Regions from separate parts of the Homo sapiens genome. Here all the other regions are linked to region 2. Evidence: promoter capture Hi-C in human tissues and cell types (Jung and others, 2019). All regions are on one chromosome and are shown on one strand. The core of a region is centred on a gene start or on the middle of the fragment in contact, and the rest is flanking DNA. Distances in the headings are between cores, read along the strand shown.

The links. The method cuts DNA at HindIII sites, captures the fragments that hold promoters and counts their contacts. A contact is called where the count stands out against the background at its distance.
Region 1: a fragment that was not itself captured here is called in contact with the fragment with the promoter of TTLL11 in region 2 in 2 of the 25 tissues and cell types used here (bladder and thymus).
Region 3: a fragment that was not itself captured here is called in contact with the fragment with the promoter of TTLL11 in region 2 in 3 of the 25 tissues and cell types used here (pancreas, spleen and thymus).
Region 4: a fragment that was not itself captured here is called in contact with the fragment with the promoter of TTLL11 in region 2 in 1 of the 25 tissues and cell types used here (lymphoblastoid cells).

Annotation. Positions count from the first base shown.
Region 1 is chr9:122,289,823-122,296,734 of GRCh38, forward strand. It overlaps MRRF (mitochondrial ribosome recycling factor), which reads left to right. Exons shown (of 7, transcript NM_138777.5): 5 at 1,927-2,018. Among named protein-coding and RNA genes, the nearest start is that of MRRF, 28 kb to the left of the region's middle. The HindIII fragment of the contact is 5,171 bases long and covers 2,806-6,912 here.
Region 2 is chr9:122,090,893-122,097,063 of GRCh38, forward strand. TTLL11 (tubulin tyrosine ligase like 11) reads right to left here and starts at 2,416. Exons shown (of 9, transcript NM_001139442.2): 1 at 1,795-2,416. The coding sequence starts at 2,256. It overlaps LOC124902263 (a long non-coding RNA gene), which reads left to right and starts at 3,240. Exons shown (of 2, transcript XR_007061757.1): 1 at 3,240-3,280; 2 at 4,282-4,508. It overlaps LOC124902262 (a long non-coding RNA gene), which reads left to right. Exons shown (of 3, transcript XR_007061755.1): 3 at 145-387. RefSeq lists enhancers at 1,944-2,657, 2,407-2,596 and a silencer at 2,007-2,056. The HindIII fragment of the contact is 16,076 bases long and covers 1-6,171 here.
Region 3 is chr9:122,233,186-122,239,941 of GRCh38, forward strand. RBM18 (RNA binding motif protein 18) reads right to left here. Exons shown (of 6, transcript NM_033117.4): 6 at 4,437-6,756. Among named protein-coding and RNA genes, the nearest start is that of LHX6, 7.6 kb to the left of the region's middle. RefSeq lists a silencer at 4,151-4,351. The HindIII fragment of the contact is 6,020 bases long and covers 1-5,554 here.
Region 4 is chr9:122,335,766-122,342,705 of GRCh38, forward strand. No RefSeq gene overlaps it. Among named protein-coding and RNA genes, the nearest start is that of PTGS1, 32 kb to the right of the region's middle. RefSeq lists enhancers at 705-1,310, 1,311-1,914. The HindIII fragment of the contact is 6,762 bases long and covers 1-5,266 here.

The DNA.
Region 1 (6,912 bases), core at 4,141-6,640, 200 kb after region 2:
TTTGAGACCAGCTTGGGCAACATGGTGAGACTCCATCTCTATAAAAAATACAAAAATTAGCCAGGCATGGTGGTGCAGACCTGTAGTCCCAGCTCTTCTTTCTTTTTTTCCTCCTGCAGCTACTTGGGAGGCTGAGGTGGAGAGTCACCTGAGCCTGGGAGGTCAAGGCTGCAGTGAGCCGTGATTATGCCACTGCCCTCAAGCCTGAGTGACAGAGTGAGACCCTGTCTCAAAAAAAAAAAAGAAAAAAGAAAAAGAAAAGAAAAATCAAATCCTTAATGTTATAATTACTGAATGCATTGAGCTTGGGGATCTGGAAAAAAGTAAAGGTAGAGCAGCATCATTGGATTAAATCCCTATTCAGTCTCCTCTTAACTCTGCCAGTAACTGGAAGTTTGATGGATGGGAGTCCTCAAACCATCTCTCTTGGGCTGTCAGGGAAGACCATGTCTACTCTTGGGGGTGTGACCCTATTCTACAAGTTCCTCTTCACATAATGAAGAGACTTGGTTATGTCAGAAATCCCTTCCAGCTCTAATAATCTGTGGCCAGAGGTACTATTTTAAGAATGTACTATTTTAGGTAGTGGCCACAATGTTAGATTCTGTGTACAGCCTCCCAAGAGGATTCTTCATGTGTATGTGGAAGTTCTGGTTTGTCTTTGTGACCTTATAGTAACACCTCAGGTAGCCGTAGCAGTAAGGTTATTTAAAAATGAAATGAATGAGTTTTATGGGCAGAGAACCCAGAAAAGTAAAATAGGTGTATATCAACCGCCATTCATTTAAATTAGAAAGTCTAGGAGGAGCTCAAGTGCAGGAATTGGCCTTTGAATCCAAGTGATGTGGATTGTCTCCGGTCAAGCCTAAAATTCTTTGAAAATGTCAGAGGCTTTGTTTTCATGAGTTCCACATTGTCATGCCAATGAAAGGATCTCTAGGATTGCATACAAGGTATAGTTATAATGTTGCTTGAGTGTGAGGTGAGGCACTTTGGGAAATGGGTGTGCCAGTGTGCCAGCTGGCACATTAGTGAGCAAACTGTCAGAGAAACCCCTGAAGGATGTTGGGCAGGTTAGCAGTACATCAGCTACATGAAGACATCAACTCCACCTTGTTTGAGAGTTTTATGCATTCTTACCTTTATATAATAAATGTATATAATATGTTCATATAACTGCCCTTGCCTGAGTATTACTATGTCCCAGGCACAGAGCAAGATGCATCGCTCATGTTATTTCACTACCTCTCTGAGGTTTAGGGACCACATGGTCTCAGATGATGAAATATAGGTTCAGAGAGGTCAAGCATATGCCCAGGGTCACATGGTTACCAGAGCTGGGATGTGAACTGAGATCTTTCTGACTCCAAAGCCCATGCTTTAAGCTAGTATACCACACTACCTTTGCGGGAGCATATACCAGCAGAGATTCATTGCTCATTCCAAAATATGAGTGAGTTTGGTGTGAGTGCAGATGCGAATGAGTTAAATTTATTTACTCATTCCAAATCGGCACTGGTATATTTTGAGTGTAAAATGTCAACTGGATTTTTTTACGTATGAAATCTTTCATCTGTCTTTACACCAATCTTTGCAGAGACCAGCCCCCCTCCCTTGAGGATTTATTGTGGTTTTGATCTGTGTTGCCTCAAACCATTGAAATCTTTTCAAAGAGGCAGAGCTGTTTTCTTTTTATTTTTTCTTCTTTCTTTTTTTCCTCCTGCAGTACAGTGGTACCAGGAGTGGACATAGTTTGCTATTCAGCTTGATCAAAGCACTCTACACCAATGTAACTTCCTGATCTTACTGGTAACAGAACTAAATGTTTCCATGTTCTGCCAAGATGGGTTGCCAGTTATCGACAGAGGGCTTGCATCTGGTAATAATTATTTACTAATTCTGTTTACCTTTTGATCTGGTTTTCAGTGTACAGCTGCAGCTATCAAGGCTATAAGAGAAAGTGGAATGAATCTGAACCCAGAAGTGGAAGGGACGCTAATTCGGGTACCCATTCCCCAGTAAGTTTGGCTGAAATTCACATATTTTGATGAAACGGGGTGGTTGTCCTTGGAAGGAAACCAACAAATACCCTACTATACCGTTAGGCCAATAACATACCTTACCTGTACCTTTCACCCTGGCAAACATCTTTTGAGATCACTTTACTGATTCAGAAATACTTATTGAGCGCCTGTTATGTACTAGATGTGAGGTTTGCAGCAGTAAGCTTGAGAATTTGTTGTCCTTACATAGTTTACATTCTGGTTGGGAAGGTAGGACAAATAAATAAAGTCATTCCAGATAATGAAATGCTATGAGGAAAGAAAAGACAGTGGGATCCAATAGAGAGTGACTTGGTAAGGATGATGGTGGCAGGGGCACCTGTAGCCTGAGAAGACTCTTTATGCAGGTAACATTTTTGCTAAGAGCTAAATGATGAGAAAGAACCAGCCTAGGGGAGAGCATTTTGGGCAGCGTGAACAGCAAGCAGAAAGGCCTCCAGTTTGAAAAGACCTTGACACTGGTAGTCTCTAACTTATATTCTTTGAAGAGCTATTTTTTTTACATTAGTCCTTGCTAGTCGAAGAATTTTAAGCTGAGAACAGAATATTGTTAATTATATAAATATATAGAACTTAAAGTTTTAAGTGAATAAAAATGTTCATTTTTAAATTTAAAAAAAGAAGAGAAAATATAAGACCTTGACCTTTTTGAGAAAGAAAAAAGCCAGTGTGTGTGAAATGCAGGGAGAGGGTGGTAGGAGAGGAGGTTGGACTAGTCAGTAGAGGCTGATGGTTTAGGCATTATAAGTCATGGTGAGTGGGCTTTATTCTCACTGTGATGGGAAGTCAGTGGAAGGATTTAAGCAGGGGAATGACCTGATCTGATGTTGACTATGTGAGGGTCTCTCTGACTGCTGGTTTAACAAATGGACTATAGGGGTACAAAGTGGACACAAGGGGAACAGTCAGGAGGCACCTGCAGCAGTCCAGGTGAGACACATCTTCTCCGATTCCACAGCAAAAGATTTAAATCCCTATTCCTACACAGTGCCTCATATATAGCAAGGCCCAAATAAGTGTTGAATTAACTCGTTCAGTCTTTCAACAAATATTTATTAAGTACTAATGACATGCCAGATACTTTCTTAGTTGTTGGAATATAGCAGTAAACAAAACAAACAACAAAAAGTCCCTCTCTTCCTCGGGCTTCCCTGATAGTTGCATAGGCACAGTAAATAAGTACGTAATGGAATGTCAAGTGATAGTAAGGACAATGAAGAAAAACAAGCAAAGTAAGGGGATAGGGAGATTTGGGGCTTTTATTATGGATAGGGAGGGTCATGAAGAAAGGGACATTTGAACAAAGACCTAATGAACAAAGCTTCCAGATAACTAAAAGGGAAATGGAGTTGAACACTAGTTGAGTGTCTTTTAGTGCCACACATTATCCTGTATTCCTTTACATATATTACCTCATTTGTCTAATCCCTGTAAAGTAGGTTTTTTCCTAGTTGTGGAAATTTAGGCTCATGTCTTTGAAGCCACACAGCTTGTGCTGAAGCTGGGACCCAAACCCAGGTTTAGTTGATAACAAAGCCTCATGATGTACCCATACCCATGCAGACAACAAGAATCAATCCCAACACGGGAGTCCAGAAACTTTCCACACTGAACTTTTTCCTGCCTCGTGGCCAGAAAATAGCTGTCTTGTTCCATTGTGTTCTCAGTACTCTGTGAGGCTGAAGTAACACTCTGCTTTGAAATCATGTGAATTGGGAACAATATAACCTAACGTTTAAGAAGCAGATAGACCTAGGTTCAAGTCTTTCTGCTTGAACCAGATAGTTCAAGTTTGTTTGGCAAGTTCATTGATTTGCTTAGTGAATGTTCTGAGAATGCGTATGTGCCAGGCTCTGTGCTGGGGATGTATAGACGTGATGTATGCCTTCATGGAGCTCACAGGCTGTGTGCCAGGCCTCTTGTTTGTATTGCCTCCAACTTACTTGTGGAAATTACTAGGGCCCACATTTATAGATGAAAAATGTGAAGTTCAGAGAAATTAAGGGACTTGCCCGAGATCACATGACCAGTAAATGGCAGTCAGGATTTGAAGCCTGAGTTTTTCTGTTACCTTTCTCCTGCATTTTCTGTGTAGATGCATAATTCTGGAAAGTGCTAAATGTACACATGGACGTTAGAAGCAAGATTTACAAGAGTAATAGATAGTAGTCAGCAGGCTTATTTTCTAGTTTTTGCTGTCCTGTTTGTGAAACCTTGGACAGTCACTTAACCTCCCTGAGCCTTGGCTTCCTCACATGTCAGATGAAGGGGTTGTTCTTAGTGGCCTGCCAGGTCGTTTCTGAAGCTCCAAAATACTGTGGGGCTATGAATTTGTGCTACTAAATGCTCATTGCTGATTTGGATTCTTCTTAGGGTGACTCAGTTGTGTATCACATTTTTCTTTCAAAGATCTGGTTGACATAACATGCATTTCTGCAGCCCCGCAAGAGTAAATGATCACTGTCGGTGCATTGTATGTAAGTTTGAAAGATCAGTGAGTTTAACTCGAATTTCCAAAGATAAGAGGATCTGTTACATTATTTTTTACATTATTTTATTTTGGTTAATGGGTGTAATCCAAGAGAAAGTTGATGGACCAAAACCGTCTGCTCCTGCAAACCTCATTTTTTTATATACTTTCTTCCCTTTGACAAGGTGGTGGGGTCATGAGGCCCCTTACTGAATTATAACGTTTGGTAGTTTTCCAGATAAAAAATGAATGATCTGTTCTTTATTATAGAGGCTGTGTTACGTGAGAGGATAAAGGTTGATTTATAAGTAAGAGGATCGAGGTTTTTATTTGGTTTTAGCAGTGACTTCCATATGACTCTGGGCACAGCGCCCTAGTTGCTTGCTGCCTTCTAGTTCCTTATTTGTAAAATAGGTTAGTGCATAATGATAAGCAGAGATGTGGTGAGATTAATAGAGAAAATAAATTAAGTGGTATGATTTCCTTAAACTATATAAACATAAGATATTACTTCAGTAAACTTTTAATTTTCTACATATTATATAATTTTAGGAGAAAAGGATGGAGGGAAGAAGGGAACTAATAGGTCGAGCACCTACTATGTGCCAGGAATGGTTAGGTGCCTTACATATTCAGGAAAGCAGAAAAGTATAATGGTTAAATTTTGCGTTGGTGTCACGTAAGCATGAAATTGAGTTCCAACATTTCCTGCTTTTTAGCTGTGTGACAGTGGCACCTGTCTCTGCCTCTGTGAATCTCAGGCAGCTCATCTGTGAAATGATAATTTACAGGACTTGCCATATATGCTTATTGGGAGATTTCAGTGAGATAATGTACATGAAGCTTTTGATGCTTAGTAAGCACCCAATTAATGCTAGCAAATATGCTATTTCCATCATCCCCTTTCACAAATAGGAGCATCATTCCTTTTTAGGGATGAAGAAAATGAGATTCAGAGAGGTGAGGCATTGGTTCTGGGTCACACAGCTGGTAATTGACAAAGCGGTGAGGAGGAAAATAACACATCATATCTTAAGTTGGGACTTTGAGGGGTAGGGGAAATAGGAAGCATACATTCTTAAGATCAGTTTCCTTTTTTTTTTTTTTTGAGATGGAGTCTTACTGTGTAGCCCAGGCTGGAGTGCAGTGGTGCGATCCCAGCTCACTGCAGCCTGCGCCTCCCAGGTTCAAGCAATTCTCCTGCCTCAGCCTCCCAGGTAGCTGGGATTACAGGCGCCCGCCACCACGTCTGGCTAATTTTTGTATTTTTAGTAGAGACGGGATTTCACCATGTTAGCCAGGCTGGTCTCGAACTCTTGACCTCAAGTGATCTGCCCACTTCGGCCACCCAAAGTGCTGGGATTACAGTTGTAAGCCACTGCGCCTGGCCCCTTAGATCAGTTTCTGATTATAAAAGTTTGAGTTTAGTTCTAGGAAAATTTGCCTCCTCTGATTGATCCTGATTCTTCCACTGCCTAATGATAGTCTATAGGTTTGCTTTTTTGCCTTAACTCTGGATACCCAGAACTAAATTTTATTTTCAATTGAAGCAGATCTCACCTATTACCTCACCCTCATTACATTCCTCTGATTCTTATATTCTTATTTAAATGAGTCTACTGAGTATGTGACTCTTAACTATAATCTGCCTCTGATCTTTTGGGGAAGTAGGTAAAAGATAAATCCTAAATCAGTAACAGGCCAGGCTTGGAGCCTGAGTGGTCCTTATCATCAAGACCTCTTTTTACAGCCTCTGAGACTCAGCTCTGCGTGGCTGTTTGCGAGTTTTTTTTTTATCGTGGCTGTCTCCTCAGGTAAATAACCATTGAGTCTTAGGGGCTCTGGATTATATCTTTTCCCACTGACAATGTGGATAGCTTTTGTTTGCTTCTCTGGCAGTGATTTTTATTTAGATAAGTTAGTCAACTGGATTGGTTTTTTTGGGACATTCCTGTTAATGGAGATATACTGAAATAGTTTCTTCTATTTTTCCAATTCATGTAATTACATTTTAGGTACCATTTATCAACCACCTAAACTAGAGGTATAATGCCTGGAAGTGTTGAGCTGAACACTTTACAATTTCTCCCCAAATTCTTACAACACTATGTGGTGAAGAGACTATTTTAGGCTCATTTGACTGATGAGAGTCCTGAAGCTCATAGAAGTTGATGCCCAATATCAGATAGCTAGTAAGTGGCAGAAGCAGGGTTAGAATTGGGGTCTTTGTCACTGCCTTTCTTCCTGTTCCTGTCTCCTGATAGAAGATTTATCTGGAATATCAGTCTTTTCACTCCTTAATCAGGGGCCCTGAAAAGTTTTGATCAGGGGTTCATTTTGTTCAGGCCAGGTTTCTGCCTCCACCTTATTCACATCATC
Region 2 (6,171 bases), core at 1,166-3,665:
AATGAAAAGGGAGAATTTCAGGATGCAGCAGCAATGTAATGACCTGTAATGACCGCAATTATTCCTTTACTTGTGTTTTATTCCCTATTGAACCATGAAGTCCTTGGGGGCAAGGGTCACATCTTAAGTATGTTTGGTTCCCAGGGCCCAGCAAAGAACTTGGCACCTCCAAAGTGGACATTTACGGAATGAGTGAACGAACCTGGGCTGGGATGTATTAGTCCATCTGGCCCCATCTCTCCGAGCAAACGAGATCTGGCCTGCTTTATGTCTCTCTCTCCCACAGGGATAAGCTAAGTGGAGGCCCCACTTGGGCCAATCTGCCTAGCCTGACTCCATAGCCTGGTTTTATTTGCTGGATTCTCCCTTCATTAAGACCACGGCACTGACAAGTTGTCCAGTTGTACCTTTTCTAGCCCTCATATCTCTGGCCTGGACCTGGGGCCCTGCCTAGAAACCCAGATACTTTAGAACTGAGAGCCTGCCTTTGTTTTCCCCAAGTTTCCCCAGCATGAAAGTTCCCCTCTGAATCCCAAGCCCCAAGGCTGGGGGCCCAGACACTTGGAGTCAAACTTCCCCAACGGCTACACCCTATCCACCTGGAAGTCGGTTCTGCCTGATCCTTGACTTCCCTCCAAACCAAATGCACTTTTTCCTATTGGGACATCAACCCTCTGACCACATCAGTCCTTTCTGTGGCCATCTCTCTGTATGTTCCAACTTAATGAAACCATTACCGAGCATCTACCATAGCCAAGGCACAGGGCTAAGAACCTGAGTCCTCTGTTACCCGCAGCAGATCCCTGTTACCACTGGCTGTGTCCACACTCAGCTATCCTTAATCAAACTCCTGACACTCCTGAAAGCACATTAAATACCTTATATGCTGCAAATAAAGTCAAATGGCTTTATCCACGTAGCCAATTGCAACAGACACCTCTAGAGTCACTGGTGCTACATTCCATCCCCTGCCAGTCTAAAATGGGCTCAGGGATGATAACTCATGTATTCATTCACCCTTTCATTCACTGCTTACTGACACATGCCGTAAGCCAAGCCTGGAATATAAAATACAGTGCCTGATTTTATACCACTGATCATGAGGACAGTGGTGGTGCTGGTGGTGGTGATGGTGATGATGGTGGAAGAAGAGAGAAAGGAGAAGGTGGTAACGTAAGTTACCATTTATTGCAGACTTGTGCTATAAAACACTAAGTAGTGAGTCTTCTAATGCTAACAAGATGATGAGATAAGTATAATTGGCCTCACTTTACAGAGAAGGTAATAGGCTGAAGAGGTGAAGCAACTTACTCAAGGTCACACAGCTAAGTAGCAAAGTGTAGTGAGACCCTAGGCCTGTCTGCCTCCAAAATAAAAAGTGTTCCTCTGCCCAAGAGTCACACAGCAAGTGCTAAACAAATATAACTTCAATGAAGAAGTGAGAGAGCGGGTCCGGGGCCCCAGGGGCTTACAAGCTGGTGGAGGAGACAGACGTACACATATCTACAAGCAGAGGCAAATGCTGATGGCTGAGACATAAAAAGAGCTGCAGGGAGGCAGAGGAGTGAGTGGCTAACTTGACCTGGAGGGGTCTGGGGGGCCCTCTTGGAGGAAGTGATTTTGGGGGGTAGGCCTTGAAGGATGAGCACTTTGCGGCTGACAAGCAGGCCCGAGCGTGGTGCACCGCAGGAGCTCAGCCCTCGCCCGCCGACCTGACCTGGGCCGTGCCGAGACCTCTGAGGTCGTCCTGTCCACCCCACTGTGCCCACGCGGCCGGGTCGGGCCGGGCCTCACCTCCTTCCACTTGAGCTGGCGGATGCTGATCTTCAGGGCATCCAGGGAGGTCCTGGCCTTGGAGCTGTCCACGGTGACCGGCCGCTGGGAGCCGTTCTCGCCGGAACCGTGGCCCGAGCTCCGCTTGCAGCTTCGGCCCTTGTCCCGGGGCTTCCCGTGCGGGCAGAGGCCCTGCACCGGCTTCGGCTTGGACGGGGGCAGCGTGGGCGGCGGCCGCTGAAGGACCTGGGTGTTCCCCTCCTCAGCCGCACTGGGCTGCGCCGGGGCCGGGGCCAGGACCTTGGGCTGCTCCTCCCCTGCCTTGCACTCCGGTTCCCCGGCCGCGCCCGCGTCCACGCGGACCTGTTCCGCCACCGTCTCCGCTGTGGCCTCGGCCTCAGCTTTGGCCGCCGCTTTGGCCGCAGCCACCGCCTCCGCCTCCCACCGGGCCGCCAGCTCGCTCTCGGAGCTGCCCCGCCGCATGGTGCTCAGGGCCGGGGCCAGTGCCAGTGCCACCGCCGCCGCCGCCGCCGCTCCGCCGCCCCAGTCCGCCACCAAACTGCCGCCGCTGCAGCCGCTGCCACGCGTTCCCCGCCCGAGCCCGTTGCCATGATCGCTCAGGCTCGGGTTGACAGCGGCAGTCACCGCATCGAGACGGGGTCCGGGAAGGGACAATCGCCGGCCGAGCCCCAGCGACCTCATAGGCGAGGCTGCCCACGTGACCCTGCCTGTCACAGAGGCAGCGGCGGCCATGTTGGAAGAGGGCAAAGAGCCGCCAGGACCCGCCCACCCCGCGGATGCGCTGGATCTCGAGGGCGCAGAACTCGGAGTGGCGAGGAGAAGCGGGAGGGCAGATTGAGCGCGCGTGGGGCTCGTGAGCCTGGGGACTGGGAGTAAAAACAACTACCTCAAGCAGGAGGCTCAGTCCCCGCCAACACTCGCTGGGATAACTCTCGATAGGACGGAGGAGGAGCCCCCCAGTGGGACCCTCCTCAGTGCAATGGATGGGACCCTCCTCAGTGCAATGGATGGGACCCTCCTCAGTGCGATGGATGTGAGCAGCCCAGGCCCTAGGGGAGCAGAGAGTGTTCCGCTGAAGAAACCCTCTGCTGGTCCTTTGAGCGCCCCCAGATAAGAGGGGAGGCACTTTTCCCTGTTCTCAGGGAGCTCCCGATGGGATGGGGAAGTCATGGGCATGGGTAAGCCCCCTATAGATTCCCACTCGAGTTGAGGATATTAACGATTTTTTCTTTTTCTTTTCTTTTTTTCTTTTTTTTTTTTTTTTTTAGACAGGGTCTCTCTCTGTCGCCCAGGCTGGAGTGCAGTGGCGCGATCCCGGCTCACTGCAGCAGCCTCAACTTCCAGAGCTCAAGGGATCCTCCCACCCCAACCTCCCGAGTAGCTGAGACTACACGAATGTACCACCACTCCCGGCTAAGTTTTGTGTTTCTCGTAGAAACGTGGTTTCGCCATGTTGCCGAGGCTGTTCTCAAACTCCTGACCTCAGGTAATCTGCCAGCCTCGGCCTCCCAAAGTACTAGGATTACAAGCAGAACCACCGCGTCTCTTGTTTTCTTTTTTGTTTTTGTTTTTGTTTTGTTGTTGTTGTTGATGTTGTTACAGAGTTTCGCTCTTGTCGCCCAGGCTGGGATGCAATGGTGTGATCTCGGCTCATTGCAGCCTCCGCCTCCCGGCTTCAAGCAATTCTCCTGCCTCAGCCTTGTGAGTAGCTGGGATTGCAGGAGCCGGCCACCATGCCCGGCTAATTTTTTGTATTTTTAGTATAGACGGGGTTTCACCATCTTGGCCAGGCTGGTCTCTAACTCCCGACCTCAGATGATCCACCCGCCTCAGCCTCCCAAAGTGCTGAGATTACAAGCGTGAGCCACCACGTCCAGCCTGACTGCTTTTACTTATATCACTTTTTTTGTTGTGGTAAAATATAACAAAATTTGCCATTTTAACCATTTTTAGTGTACAATTCAGTGGCATTCTGTATACTCACATTGTTGTGCAACCAGCACCACTATGGGTCTCCGGAACTCTTTTATCTTACCAAACTGAAACTTTGTGTCTATGAAACAATAAGTCGGGATTCCCTTCTCTCCTAGTCCCTGGGAACCACCATTTCTACTTTCTGACTATGAATTTGACTATTCCTGGTTCCTCATGTCAGTGGAATCATACAGTATTTGTCTGGCTTATTTCACGTAGCATAATGTCCTCAAGGTTTCTCCATGTTGTAGCATGAGTCCAAATTTCACTCATTTTTAAGACTGAAAAATATTTCGTCGTGTGCATACACCACCTCGTTTTTATCCATTCATCTGTCAATGGACTTAGGTTGTTTCCACCTTTTGGCTATTGTGAAGAATGTCGGTTAACATTGGTATACAAATACCTGTTTGAGCCCCTGCTTTCCATTTTTGGGAGTTGCCATCATTTTAAAGCCAAACCAAGGAGAAAGCTCTCCCCTCCCACCTGAGGGAGCCGCATTTGTTTTTTTAGGAAGTGGGGTTGAGAAGGTGTAACAGCACCCCAGACTGACCACAGCGGCCACGACTGCACACAGGGGAACTTTGCCTCGCTCGACACTACAGGGTGAAAGAAACACAGAAGTTGTCAAGGAACGTGGCCCCTCTTCCTCTCTCATCTCTCCAGGTGTCTTGTTTCTTTGCTTTAGTCCAGGGGTTTCACTTGCTGAATAAACTGCCTTGAAATGTCCAAGTCATAAACTTAAGAGATCCAAACCTCCTTTTTAGCAGCAGAGGGCGCTCGCATCTGTTCCCTTCATGACTTTGTTTCAGAGTTTCTGTAAGCATGGTCGTCTGGCCACTTGCATGGGAACAACCCGGGGTGTTTATTTAAAATGCAGGCTCCTGGACCCCACCCCCAGAGACTGTGATGCAGCACATCTGGGTGGACCTGGGAATCTGCATGTTAAATTAGCTCCTCCGCTGATTCTAAGGCAGCGGAGGCAAGAACCACTCATAGAGTCTGATGCAAGTCCTCTGGAAATTCTTGGAGCTGTCCGTGGTATCAGTAAGAAGGCCTCACTGTCCCCCCATTTCTCTCCACAAACCTACCCCCCAAATCCTGTCCCTCCTCCTGGTGTCCTTGATCTCAGCAAGTGGCACTACCTTCATTCAGTCATCCATGCTTGAAATTTGCCGAGATCGCGCCACTGCACTCCAGCCTGGGCGACAGAGTGAGACTCGGTCTCAAAAAAAAAAAAAAAAAAAAAAAAAAAACATATATATATATATATATATATATATATATATATATATATATATATATAAAAACTGGGCATGATGGCATATGCCTGTAATCCCAGCTACTCGGGAGGCTGAGGCACAAAACTCATGAACCCAGGAGGCAGAGGCTGCAGTGAACTGAGATCGCGCCACTGCACGCCTAGGGCAACAGAGCGAGACTCATTCGAGAGAGAAAAAGAGAGAGAGAGAGAGAGATCTCCTCTTTCCTCTCTTATCTATCTCTATCATCACCACCCCAATTCAGGCTTCTGCTGATAGCTCACCTCCAGCTCTGCCACACACCCACCCATTCTCCACACCAGACCTGCCACTCTCCTGCTTAGAAACCTCCCCTGGTTTGTCACCATCTACAGATAAAGTCCAAGAACATTGATTGTCCTAAGAGGCCCTTCCTGATTACAATTTCTGAAATCAACCCCTCTCCCTGCCTCCATGCCTTTGTAAACATTGTTCCTTCTGTCTGGACTTCCCTTCCTTCATGTCTGTTCTTAGACAAACTTTTCCCAGTGCCTCAGGCAGAAATAGTTACTCTCTGTGCTCTTCTATTCACACCCATAATTCTCATCCACAACTCTCAACCCTGGTCTGTCTGTCACACTATCTAGAAATCATCTCAGCCTCCACCATTAGTCTGGGCAAGAACAAATCTTGTCTGATTCATCTCTGTATCCCCATCTCTTGGGTCTTGGAACACAGTGGCCCTTGCTTTGTTCATGGTAGTATGAACAAAGTAGTATGGATGTATTAATGAATGAGTCATTTTCAGCCTCATATGTCAAATCTGTAAGGACAATCCCATATAGAAATATTCATTTTGGCTTCACATCCCGAGACCTCTTCTGCCTCAGGGCCTTTGCACATGCCCTCTGCCTTTCTTTAGATCTCTGGCTACTGCTCCTTCATTATTCAGTGTAAATGATACATCTGCACAGATACCTCTGATCTCTTCATCTAAGTCAGACTTATTCAGATGAAATAATTATGCAAGAGAGGAAAATAGGAGGTGTCATGAGGGAGTATATGATTAAGTGCCAATGAGGCAAAGAGTAAAAAATAAAATTCATCCAGTAGCTCAAGAAATAGAGAATTTACTGTGAATTAGAAAGCTAGACCAGGCTTC
Region 3 (6,756 bases), core at 1,295-3,794, 140 kb after region 2:
GAGACACGGCAGCACCCCCCTTCCAAGCCTAGGACCTACCCTCACCCCATCAGCTTCCTAGGTATTTCCTGTTTGAGGAAAGAGCACAGAATGGGGTACAAACTGTATGACCCTAGGCCGGCAATTTACCTCTCCTGGCCTCAGTGTCCTTGTTTGCAAAATGCGCGTGTGAATCAGCGATGTGGAAGTGACGGAGCGAGCCTGGGCGTAAGATAGACCACCAACCCAGCCCAGCCACTTCCTGGCACGCTGAACTTGGAAAAGTCACTTATCTGAAACACATTTTTCTTAATATCAATATCTGGGAACAATATCAATCTCAGAGGAGTCAATAAGATAATCAGTGTGAAAGGGATTTGAGAAGCACAAAACTCCGGGGCCAGATGGCCTTAATGTCAACCTTGTCACTTCCCTTTATTACTTGGGTAATCCTGGAAAAGTTCTTCAGTCACTCATCAGCCTCAGTTTCCTCATCTGTTAAGTGAGGATAACCGAGTTCAACTCCTATGGTTGTGAAAATTACGCAAATGATCCATGTGACAGGACTCAGAAATATGCCTGGCACACAGTAGTCAATCAATAAACATTAGCCGTCATTGTGGCACGGGCTCTCTGAATTTTCTGTTTGTTATTCTACTAGGTACCACATCAAATTCTTTATGAAGGCAGGGGACAAATCAAAGCTTCAAAGTATATGGCAAAGCAATATTGCATACCTCAAAGCATATTGCAAATGTGAACAATTATAGTTACTGGAAGTCCCCTTCCAGGAAGCTCTGACATTCGCTAAGTAAGTTCAGGTCAGCAGACATTTGTGAAGCATTTACTCCATACCAGGTTCCACACTAGGCCCAGGAAATAGAGGAAGCTGTCCTTGTCCCTGCCCTTGAGGAGCCCACAGTCTCTTAAGAGAGAAGAAAGCCAGCAACTCAGTGCAGTGTGACAGGTGCTACAAAGGGTGCTATAGAAGCAAGGAGGAGGGTCACTTAACCTGGCTTATGGGTGGTGGATCAGGAAGGCTTCCTAGAGGAGGTGACGTTTCAGATAAGTCCTGAAGGATGAGTAAGTACAGACAGGCAAGAGCAGAAAGGAGTTGGACCAGGATAAAGAGTGGCGGCCCAGTTAGTGTTTGCTGGGGCAACAAAGGGAGATGAGGCTAGGGAAGTAGACAGGAGCCAGATTGTGGGGAGCTGAGTGTTGACGAGGTTAGATTCATCTTGGAAGCTGGAGTCTACAAGCCTACAGTGACACAGGAAGCAGCATCCTGCAGGAGTTGCACAGCACAGTGGTTAAGGATTCCGGGGTTGGAGCCAGGTGGCCTATATTGATAACCTGACCCTGTTACACACTGGTTGGGGGGCCGAAGGCAAGTCACAAACTCTATGAGCCTTAGTTCCCTCAACCGTAAAATGGGGATTAATAGATAACCCATTGACAAGTGCTGTGATGATACCAGGAGACCATGATGCATCTACGAGTTAAGTTCTTGGCCACCAAGAGACATTGTTATCACTGTTACCACTAAGAAGATGAGGTAATGGTCACACAGAAGGCACTAGCTAAGTGGGGATCCTCAAGGTGCTAGATGTTCCCTCCTCAGAGAATTCTACCCTGACCACATGATTGAAAATAAATCTCCCGTATTAATCTTTTTCCAGCAGAGGGTAGATACAGCTTACACATAGCCTCACAAATAGTCTTCTATAGAATGCCAAGGAATTTCAACTTCAAAATAGGAACTATGAGGGGCTTGTCAGCATGGAGATGACATGGTGAAGTTGGAGATTTGGAAAGATGACTTAAGTAGTTGGTTTGAAGATAGATTTGAAGGGGTAAGTACTTAATTGATTGCAGCAATACTGAACGTTTATTAACTAGTAATCTAAGGGAGAAGGAATGAGGCAGCTGCAGGAACAAGGAGGATGAACAGAAATAAAATAATTAAAAGTTTATTATTTTACTTTATTATGTTGTATATCATCATATACATATCTACAACACATCCAGTTTTCTAATCATCTTTTTTTTTTTTTTCCTTGAGGCAGAGTCTCGTTCTGTCGCCCAGGCTGGAGTGCAGTAGCACCATCTCGGCTCACTGCAACCTCTACCTCCTGGGTTCAAGTGATTCTTATGCCTCAGCCTCCTGAGTAGCTGGATTACTGGCACGTGCCTCCATGTCCAGCTAATTTTTTGCTTTTGCTTTTGTTTATTTGAGACAGAGTTTTGCTCTTCTCGCCCAGGCTGGAGTGCAATGGCGTAATCTCGGCTCACCGCAACTTCCACCTCCTGGGTTCAAGCGATTCTCCTGCCTCAGCCTCCCAAGTAGCTGGGATTGCAGGCATGTGCCACCACGCCCAGCTAATTTTGTATTTTTAGTAGAGATGGGGTTTCTCCATGTTGGTCAGGCTGGTCTCCAACTCCTGACCTCAGGTGATTCGCCTGCCTTGGCCTCCCAAAGTGCTGAGATTACAGGCATGAGCCACCGTGCCCAGCCAATTTTTTGTATTTTTAGTAGAGACGTGGTTTCACTATTTTGCCAGGCTGGTCTCAAACTCCTGGCGTGAAGTGATCTGCCTGCCTTGGCCAAAGTGCTGGGATTACAGGCGTGAGCCACCACGTCTAACCAACTTTACATATTAAGGTTATATATAGAATCATATATATGTAGTATATATGGTATAAATACATACAAATGTATCATATATGATATCATCAGCTATATAACATTTAGGAGACTGGATATAGGGAGTGGGGGAGTGGAAAATGTTCAAGATAACTCTCAGGTTTCTAATAGTTTATTTTATTTTTCCCAGTGACACAGAACATGGGAGCAATTGAGGAAGGGCAAGAGGGATCCATGAGCTCGGTTTTGAGTCAATGTACCAAGGGAATATTCAAGTGGAAGTGCCCAGGAGTGAACGGGACATATGGCTCTGCAGCTCAGAAGAGAGCCTGGATCTAAGAGAAGGAATTTCAGAGATATCAGGGTAGGGATAGCAGCGGAAGCCTTGGAAGTGGAGATTTTACAGCAGCTGGAATTTACCCCATCTATGAGAAGAGAGTTGGCTTGTTTGCTTTCTGGGAGGTAATTTGCCCCTGAAACTCATCTTACTTTTGGTGAGAATCGTTTTTTAAATTATAAAGCACATTATATGTAGTGATAAGTGCTAAAACAGACCCAGGTCGTTAAGACGCAGAAAGGCAATTAACTGCCTTATAGGAATGAGCATGGGTGGGAAAATATCTGTTAGACAAGTGGTGGGGGTGGGCAGAAGGGACTTCCCAGGTAGAAGGCACATCTTGTACAAGGACAGGGGAATCCAGGAGAGTCCATCATGTTTAGGGTGCACAAATAGTTTAGTCTGGTTAGGAGAATGCCTAGTGGGACTGATTTGTAGAAGGCCTCATAAACCTGGCTTATCCTATGGTTCTAGGTATTTGGAAGTATCTTAACTCCTTACTTAGATTAAATCTTAATATCTCTCACTTTGGGGCTTTGTTCTTTGTTCAACGTCCCCCTTAAACCGTTTACGCAGCTTATTAAACATCGTTTGGCCGCTCAGCTCGGGGGGAAATCACCTATGTCACCATGTCCCATTCCCAGCCTGGTTCCCATCCTCTGGTGTCTTGAAGCTGCTGAGTCGTCCCTTTATCACGGTACATCACAGTGCACAGGGCTCCTGCCTCATCATCTTTACACCCTCCACGCATCACACATGGCAAATGCCATCTGTTTCAGGAATGAGTAACCTTCCTTCTGATGAGGTCGCCCACCAGAAAGCTTCTCAAATGGGATAGGCCTGTTTTCAGAAGAGGAACACATAACTTGTTTTTTAAGGTGAAAATTTAAAATTATGCTTCTAGTTTAGAAAAGTCACAGGGCATGTAAAAATTAAATGTCATTCAGCATAATCAGTAATCTTAGCCAAGTTTAAGATTGAATGCAGAGGAAAGAAGACACAGACCTGCGTACTCGGATAAATTCTGACAGATCTGTTTTTTTTGGGTTTTTGTTTTTTTCTTTTTAACCTGGGATTCAAGAGGTCTCTCCAGAGACCACAAGGAAGAGCCTGCTTGAGAATGAAACCAACCCAGAGGAAAACACAATCAAGAGATAGACAGAATCCTAACCATTTCACTGAACACCTGGACTTCTCAGTTACATGAACCAATACATGTTCTACCGCAAGGGAGTTGGAGTAGTGTTTTTGTCACTTGAGCTGGGAGTCCTGACAAATCTGCTTACATAGCTGGGGCTACAAGTCTAAATCTGAAGCCCAAGTTCTTACGGCCTTAGTTTCCTCACAGGGACAATGAGAGGATTTAGCCCACATTGATAGCCTTAAGCAGTACAGTGATGCCACTAGGGCTGGCACAGCCAGTTCTCTATCCCAAAAGATGTGTAAGGGGTCAGAGACATTGACTAAGAAACAATATTCGGTGCACATCATTCTGACATCTGTTGCTTTTATTCTCTGCATTAATACGAGAATTTTAGAAAACACATTTCCAGTCATGGAATATTGTTTAGAGTAGGGTTTGGCAAATTTTTCCTGTAAAGGGACCGATAGTATATATTTCAGGTTTTGTAGGCCACAGTCTTCATTGCCAACTATTCAACTCTTCTATTATATGGGGAAAACAGCCACATGTAAATGCCTGGGCATGGTTGTGTTCTAATAGTTATTAACATACACTGAGATTTGAATTTCGTATCATTTTCATGTCACAATATAGTATATATATTTTGTTTACTTTTTTTCTCAACCACTCGAAAATGAAAAAAAAATCATTCTTAACTTGTAGGCTATACAAAATTAGGAGGCAGAGGCCAGTTTGCTGAACACTGGACTAGATGTTTGCAGGCCTGGGTTCTACCTAAAGCTCTCCCATTAACCAGGTGACCCTGGCCAAATCGCTTTGTCTCTCTGGGTTCCCGTTTTCCCCATCTGGACAATGAGGGGGCTATATGAGATGGTCTCTTAAGGCCCTTTGGCTCTCAAATACCAGAATTCTTGTAGTTTATCCAACAAATATTTATTGAGTATGTATGATGTACAGCCATTGTTTTAAATGCTGAGGGTATAGCAGTGATATACAGTTCCTGCTTACATGAAACTTACATTCCAATAAAAAGAGACAAAAAAAAATTTAGATATAATGTTGGTTAGCGGTAAGTGCTTTTGAGAAAATCGTGAGGAAAGGATTGGAGAGTGACAGGTTGTAATTTTAAGAGGGAGGCCGGGGACTGCCTCTTGATCATTAACATTTGAGCAGAGACATGAGTCAGGTGAGAGAGCGGGCTCTGCGGCTATCTGGAGAAAGAGCGTTCTAAGCTAAGGCAACAGCCAATGTAAATGCCTTGAAGTAGAAGCTCCCTTGTATTCAAAGAATAGCAAGAAGGCCAACGTGGCTGCAGTACACCGCACAAGGGGAGAACAGTAGGCTATAGGGTCAGACACGTAGTGAAGGACAGGTCATTAGGGCCTTACAGATCTTTCAATTTTTTCTAGGCTGTGATGGAAAGCCACAAAGAAGAGAATCACATTTTAAAATAATTTTTTTAAAAATTGCTTTGGCTACTGTGTGGAAAACGGACCCTAAAGAATCAATAGCAGAGGCAGGGAGATAATTAGGAAGGTATTGTAATAGTCCAGGGAAGAGATGATGGTGGCTTTAAGAAAAATGGTGGTAGTGTTGGAGGTGGTGAGATGGCTGGATTCAAGAGGCATTTGGAAGGTAGAGTTGACAGGATTTGTTGAAGAACTAGATAGGAGCTGGAGAGAAAAAGAGAAAACAGGGATAAGCATGCTGGGACTAAATCATATTTTAGGAACAAATGATTACATATAGGAAATGTTTGACATTTAATTTATAAGGCAAGAATTACTCCTGTTCTTTTATGTAGTAGTATAAAAGAATCACAGATATATTTGTTGATTCAGAAACTGTGCATATCTTAATAAACAAGAGACAGAGCTGCAGAATACCTGGTTTCATACAACTTGTGCAACTGATTTTTGACCTGTTTTGTTTTTGTTTTTTTTGAGACGGTGTCTCACTCTGTTGCCCAGGCTGGAGTGCAGTGGCACAATCTCGGCTCACTGGAACCTCTACCTCCTGGGTTCAAGCGATTCTTGTGCCTCAGCTGACATGCTTTGAAAAATCTTTCCTCATGTGATACTCCTCCCCAGTACTAAGATACCAATTATAGAAAATCAACTGGTTAGGATTACATTTTGCATTTGATAAAATAGGAATTGAGATGAAGAAAATAGTTCATACGTCTCTCCTCAGTATTTCCTTCAATTCTTCACTCTTGTATATAAATCAAAATTATAAGTGACATAATTTTAGCAAACCAAAATAACCAGTAAACCAAAGAATAATTTTACTTAAAGTACAGACAACCTCCTAACAAAGAGTTGACCAAGTTAACACCTGAAATTTAAAAACCTTTCATCAGACTGCTTTCAGCATATTTAGGATACATACATTTCTTCTTTTGAAATCTCTACCACGAGAGACTAAACACAGTACGATACTTGCAGAGATTTCCATTAACAACTTCTTTTCAAATAGTGACATTTGCAATGGAAACAGCTGGTCTCTATTCTCATCTCTAACAACAGAGGTAGGCAGGCATAAAGGGTAAAGAGAGTTGCCTCTCAGTTTGACTCTCTAGCCAGAACCCTCTGCAGAGAAGGCACTTAGAAGAAGCACCCCACGTGGACATGCTGGCCAGAGTCCTGAGTG
Region 4 (6,940 bases), core at 636-3,135, 240 kb after region 2:
AAAAACATTCAGTGGCTCCCCCTTACCTGGATGACTGAATAGCCTCCTAACCAGTCTCTCTGTTCTTCATGCCTGGCCCTCTGATCCGTTTTCTCCAGAGGGTAAATTCTTCAAACGCAAATCAGGCCACTAGCCTTCAGAGGCTCCCTATGACCTCCAGGAAAAAATCCAAAATTCTTAACCCAAGGTCTTAACTGCAAGGCTTGACCATCTCTCTGACCCCATCTCACCCCAGCCTCTCCTTGCTCTGGCGTCTCTCAGCTCCCCACCGGTGGCTGTCACTTCAGGGACTTTGCACGTGGTGTTCCCTCTGCCTGGGACATTCCAGGCCCTACTGGCCTTGCTAACTTCTATATGTCCGTTAGCTCTCAACCCAATGTCACTCCCTCCGGGCAGCCTTCCCTGACCTCCCCAGATTGGGTTTAGCAGCTCTGAGAGCCTCTGGTCTGCCCCCAGCACCGCACTATCCCATCTGATTATATGTAACGACTTTCGCATCTGTCTCCTGCCCCAACTGTGAGCTCTGAGAAGGCAAGAACTGTCTCATTCACACTGCACGCTCAGTCCCCAGGATGAAGCCTGACACACACTGTACACTCAACAAGTATTTGCTGAATGCACAAATAAATACATGTGGCTTCCTAGTGAAACTGATGTAGCCATTCAACAAATATTTAAGCATCTTGGTAGATACTTGTTGAGCACCTACTAAGTGCCAGGCATGGTTCTCCACACTCCACAGGGTAAACAAACCATCACAAAGTCCCTGCCTTTGTGGAGCTCACGGTCTACTTGGGAGAGGCAGGCATTAAATCCATAGAGAAATAACTTAGTGCCAGGCATAGCTGAGTGCTGTGAAGGAAAACAAAGCAGGAGTTAAAGAATTGGGAGGGTGGTGGTGAGGGGGTGGGGGTTGTCAGTTTAGATGGGGCAGTCAGGGAATGCCTCACAGAGGAGGTGACATTTCAGTGATGAGCGAGGGCTTCTGCGAGACACAGACCCTCCCCTGCCTGGGGCTGTCTGGGCCACAGGTGTGTCCAGGTATGGCAGGCCCAGGTCCCCAAACTCTTCCTGCCTCTCGGTTGGAGCAAGGAACCCAGAAGAGGCCTTAGGTGAGGCTTTTGAGGCCGGTGCAGAAGCCTCAAGCTGCTCTTCACAACAGCTGTGATTGGGCTCTTTCTGCATGGCGAGAGGCAGAGATTGCTTTGTGCGCCGAGGGCTCGGCTGATTGTGGTGGGTGCCGGGCGATTGGCACCCACAGACCGCGGCCGCCAGGGTTTACCACGCACCCCCAGCACCGCGGCGGGCCGTGCGCAACGCGCCAGCCCAATCTCGCCTCCTATATTCAGAGTTGATTAGACGCTATTTCTGCCTGGATTTTCAGAAGGCTCAAGAGCTTTTTTAATCACTACAGTGGCTCATTACGGTTTTGCAGTGACACTCATGTCCTTCAGTTCTCTTCTCAGATTAGATTCTATAGTCAGATGAATATTGGATGATTTCATTACATACAAATGCAATCAACAGTTTTGCATAAATTTCTTCTCTTTTCTTGAGTTTCAATTGACCCCAGCACCCATGGTGGCAGGCGCGATCCACATGCAAATGAGCTGGGTTTGCAGCCGAGGAGAGGGGCCGGGAGGAGGCGGGCACTTGCACCAGCCCAGGGAGGCAGCAGCCTTGATTGCTCAGGCTTTGGGAGAGGGGCCTTGGAGGAGGGGGCACCCTGCAGTGGGCAGCCTCTGTGGCCAAGGCTGGGCACCCCATTCAGGATAGTGTTCTCCAGGTGAACTGAAGCACAGGGATGCTCCGAGTAGGACAGGCTCTCTCTCTGGGCAGAGACTGGAATGTGAAGTTAAGGCCCTGGCAGCTGGGCTGGCAGGGGAGGGTGTGCTCAAGATGCTTGGAGCAGTGGCTATTTAACAACTGGTGTGGACATGTTTCAATCTTTTAACAACTGGTGGGGCTATAGCAGTGCATTCCTGCTGTGTATTTGCTGCTGCTGTTATGATCATAATCACTGTCATTACTCCCTCTGGAGGGCTTAAGCTGTGGCCGTGTGGGCAACCAGTAAGAGACAAAAGCCAGCCCGAGGCAGGTGGGAAATTTTGGAGCCTGAGGCAGTTGTCTCCGGCATCATTTTCTGGATTTCTCTATTGCTTTATTGGGTGGAGGGCCAGGATATTCTCAGAATTGGGCCTCAGAAGTCTCCTAATCCATCCCTTATCTGATGCTTGAATCCTCTCTACGACACCTCTGTCCAGTGGTTTGGCAACTTCTCCTCCCTGGGAATGAGAAACTCCTTCCCTGCAAGGACCCTCTTCCGCCTCCCACAGTTCCATAGCGAGAAGGTGCTTTCTATGACTCCTGAAGCCACCCTCCCCAGCCCTGACTGTGCGCTCTGGGCCCAGCCCACCTCTGCTCCTTTGCCCCGTTGTAGCCCCTGAGGTCAGCAGCTGGTGACTGTGCTCTCCTGGGTCACCTTCCTAGGGCTGGTCTTCTCGATTCCTGCAGCTTCCATTCCCAGAAGCCATCCTCCAGCCTCCTATCCTGGTCTGTCCTCCAAATGCTTCTGGTGGCTGTCACGATTCATAGTCCGGGCCTGGACTCAACACTAGGCACAAGGCTGGAGGGAGGTGTGGGGAGGAAGAGGACCCAGGGCTAACAGCTGAGCATCCCACACGCTAAGCATTAGAGCCAAGACGACGGTCTGCACTTTGCAAACCTCACTTCCTTTGGGCAGCTTCTTTATAAAACCTTCAAACGTAAACACAGACCTGACAGGATGCAGAGAGAGACATGTGGATGCACAAAAATTCAGGGACCCAAGCTACTGCCATCATGGACACAAGGGAACCTGGAAGTGGCTGGGGTCATAGCCAGCCATGGTCAGGAACGAGACACGCCTGTGCAGCCACCGCTCCGGGCTCAGGTTCTTTCCTGTCACTGCCCTCGGCTCCCTAGACGGGGCTTGTAGAGATGCAGGAATCTGAATTGAAGCAGAGGGCTCCTGTGTGGCTGGTGGGACTACTGAAGTCTGGAGAGGGGAGGTCTGGGTAAAAAGTCACACAGCATTGAAGTGAGAGTCTCCTGATGCAGGCTGGGGGCCACTTTCTTGTTCCTCTGGCTGCCCCTGGGGACCATTCCCTCATCATTCTGTCCTGTGTGCAGTCAGGAAGATGTCTTCTTTCCTGGTTGAATGGACGCCCCCACTCATCCAGTCATTGCCCATGCCTATACCTCTGCTTCTGCTTTCGCTCAGCTTCCCTAGGCTCTTTCTGCTTGCATCTCTGTGTACATTTCTCTCCTGTTTCCCTGTCTCCATCTCCCTGTATGTCTCCTTGTCCCTTCCTCCCCCATCCCTTCCCTTGCCTCCCTGTCCATCTCCTCATCTCCCTGGGTCTGGTTGTCTGTTCCCTTTGCCAGGCCACATCTGCTCCTTTGCTGTCAGGTCACGTGTTGCCCAGAGCTGGCCTCTGTCTGGGATTGGCAGAGTTGAGATCCCCAGGACTGCTTCCTTTAGAGCTGTGGCCCTGGAAGGAGGAGGTTGGGGAGCGGCTCATTTCTGAACTCTTTGGAGCCTTCCTACAGTGACCTGCACTGGGTCATCTGTCCTTCCCTCCCAGGACGAGGGAAGGACGGCTGGGAAGCAGCCAGCTCTCTTTCATCACAGACCTATTCTCACTCAGGCTGGAAGAGGGGGCTGGAGTTGGGTGGGGAGGGTTCAAGAGGACTCCCACTGACTCTTCAAGCCGACTGGGATCATCCTAGACAAACCTGCTGCTGTCTGCGGCCAGCTGCCCCCAAAGAAGCTCCCTTCCTGCCTCCCCTCCCCCAGGTTCTCCTGGCAGAATGAATCTACCTTGCCTCACCTTTCCCTACTCCCCTCTCTCCCACCCAGGCACAAAGGGCTGCCTTCCCCTACCACGCCTGCTTTCCAACCTGCGCACCTGCAGGATGGAGAGGAAATAGCTGAGCTCTGGAGACTGATAGGACCACGACAAATCCCAGCTCTGCCACGTGCTAGCTGTGTCATCTCGGGCAAGTGACTGAACCTCTCTGAGCCCAGTTTCTTCCTCTATAAAATGCAGACAATACTCCTTCCCCTGCAAGGCTGTCAAGAAGATTATCTTATGTGAAAGTAGCTAGTAGAGAGCTGGGCACAAAGTAGACTTAATAAAACATTTGTTATGAATAAATGAATGAGTAAATATGAGTGAATCATAGAATTGAGACATGCATAAATGGGGCATGGAGAAGGAGTGCCAGGTGTCCAGAATGGTACAGGCAGAGGCAGGAGGTAAGAAACCCTGGAGAGGGGACAGGGAACCATGAGCACGTGAAGTACAAATGCAGAGTCAGGGGTCCCAAAAGAAAGTCTCAGGACATGAGGCAGAAGTGGCAAGGGCCACATCCTGGCAGTGTGAAGAGCCAGGCTCAGAGGCTTTTTTCCTTTTTCTTTTTAAAATTGAGCATCCCTCGTAGCAGCAAAAGGAATGATCAGAACTTACTGAGAGTCAACAATGAACCGGGCAGCTAAAAGTGATTAAGGCAGCAGCTTCCGTGAGTAGAGGCCTCGTGCTGGGGCATCTGACAAGCATTGCCTCATTTAATCTTCACAGCAGCCGCTGAGGGAGATGCTATTACTATTGTTTTCGCTTTACAGTTCAGGAAATTGAGATCTAGAGAAGTAAAGTGATTTTCCTGAATCACACTGCTAATAATGATCCCAGCTAGGATTTGAATCCTGGTCTATTCTGGCTCCAGAGCTTGTGCTCAGTCCCTTGGCACCACTTGACCTTCCGAAGGGAGGACCCCCACATCCCTGGGCAGGTGAGGCCATGTGAGTGAAATGGCTTAAACACACTTTGAGTTAATGAAGGGGAGTACAGAAGGCATAAGCAGAGTGCCTGAGTATGAGGAAGATGGAAGCTTGGCTTGGGGGAATCAGGGCAGGCTTTCTGGAGGGCGCTGGACACAGAGGCAGAGGGGCAGCCCAGGAGTGAGGCTGAGGCAGGCCTGGTGGGGATGGAGGTGGGGTGGGGGCTGTCACCCAGGGCCTGGAGTACAGTAGCTGTGCTGCCTGCAGCCTGGGGCTGGGGTTCTTGACCAAGATCTGCTTTTGACTGGGGTCTACTTCCGTAGCCCCACCAGGCCCAGCTTGTGCCTCATCTGCTGGTCCCCAGAAAAGCAAGAAGATCAGGATTCTGGTGACTCCAGACCTGGGCCCCATTCCCAGTTCTGCTACCCTATCATCTCTTTTTTTTTTTTTTTTTGAGACAGAGTCTTGCTCTGTCACCCAGGCTGGAGTGCAGTGGCATGCTCTCCGCTCACTGCAACCTCCGCCCCCCACCTCCCAACCCGGGTTCAAGGGATTCTCCTGCCTCAGCCTCTGGAGTAGCTGGGATTACAGGCACACACCACCACACCTGGCTAATTTTTGTATTTTTAGAAGGATGGGGTTTCACCATGTTGGCCAGACTGGTCTCGAACTCCTGACCTCAAGTGTTCTGCCCACCTCAGCCTCCCAAAGTGCTGGGATTACAGGTGTGAGCCACCACGCCTGGCCTGCTACCCACTTGCTGCAGAACTTTGGCCAAGCTTATGCCCCTTTCTGATCCTTGCTTTCCCCACCTCCAAAATGGGGGTAGAAATGCCCACAGCTGGGTGCAGCTGACAGTCAAGGGCCAGCAGGGTCCGTACAGGGCCAGGTTCAGAGCAAGTGCTGAGCAGTGCTGGCTCCTTCTCCCATCCCCAGGGGCCCCTGAAACTCTGGGCCAGGCCTGGACGCCAACAGAGAGGGTGTGTGCTGCAGACTCCAAAGCCAATACAGTCTGGATCTATATTGTCTGAATCTGTACTGCTGTGTGGTCTGGAGTAGGGTACTTAACCCACTCTATGACAGTTTCCTCATCTGTAACATAAAGATTCTAAGTCCAGAGTCCCTTCTCTAAAACCTGTAAAGTTAGATGAGTTTCAGAGTTCTTCTTATTCTAAAGTCTAACGCAAAACGTATCCTGTGTGCTGCGTGACCTCCCAGTGGGATCTAGGGCATTTCTTATAATTAAATTCATGTTTTTTCCCAAAAACATATAAATATTCGTATCAGGTAGTGAAATGAAGACCCAAAATAGCCTCTCCTTAGTCCAGGTCAGATGTGGCATCAGACCTGTGGAAAACCTTTTTGGTCACTGAAGCTTTTTGAATTTCAATCTTGTGGTTAAGGGATGATGAGCCTGGAGTATTTGCTCACGCATGGGGCTGATGAGGGGATAAGATGAGTTCCTATACACAAGGCATTCAGAACCATGCCTGGCACATAGTGAGGACTTGAGACATAAATGGTAGACAATGGCTTCCTCCCTTGCTCAAAGCCTTCTCATGGCTCCCATGTCCTCAGGATAAAGTGCAAACAATTTAGCATGGCATTTGAGGCCCTTTATGGTTGGTGTCCTGCAAAGCTTGATTCTCAGGTGTTACCACTGCCCCTCACACCCTAAACTTTATATTCATTCTTTTGTCAATTCCTCAGTCACATCAGACCCTCTTTCTCTGGAGGCTGTTTCACTTGCTGTATTTTCTGCCTGAAACGCACCCCCTTCCCTAAACTTCCTTTCTCCACTCTGTGTCAGCCTGCAAATCTCACCGCCCTCATCTAAGCAAAAGTCACCTGCAATGACTATTGCCTACCTCCCTCCTCCAGACTGTGGTCTCCAGGAATGCCGGGGCCATGTGCATATTCTTCTGTGGCACACAGTTGGTGCTGAATGAATGAACATTCTCACCCATCAGTGGTGTTGCGTTTAGCTCAGGGACTGAATAGCATTCATTGGATGAATAAATGAAACACAGCTTTGGAAGGAAGATCCCTAAAGGAATCTTCCATCCCTACCTCCACATGTACCGCAGGAGAAAATTCCTGGAATGCTTTCCTCCTGCC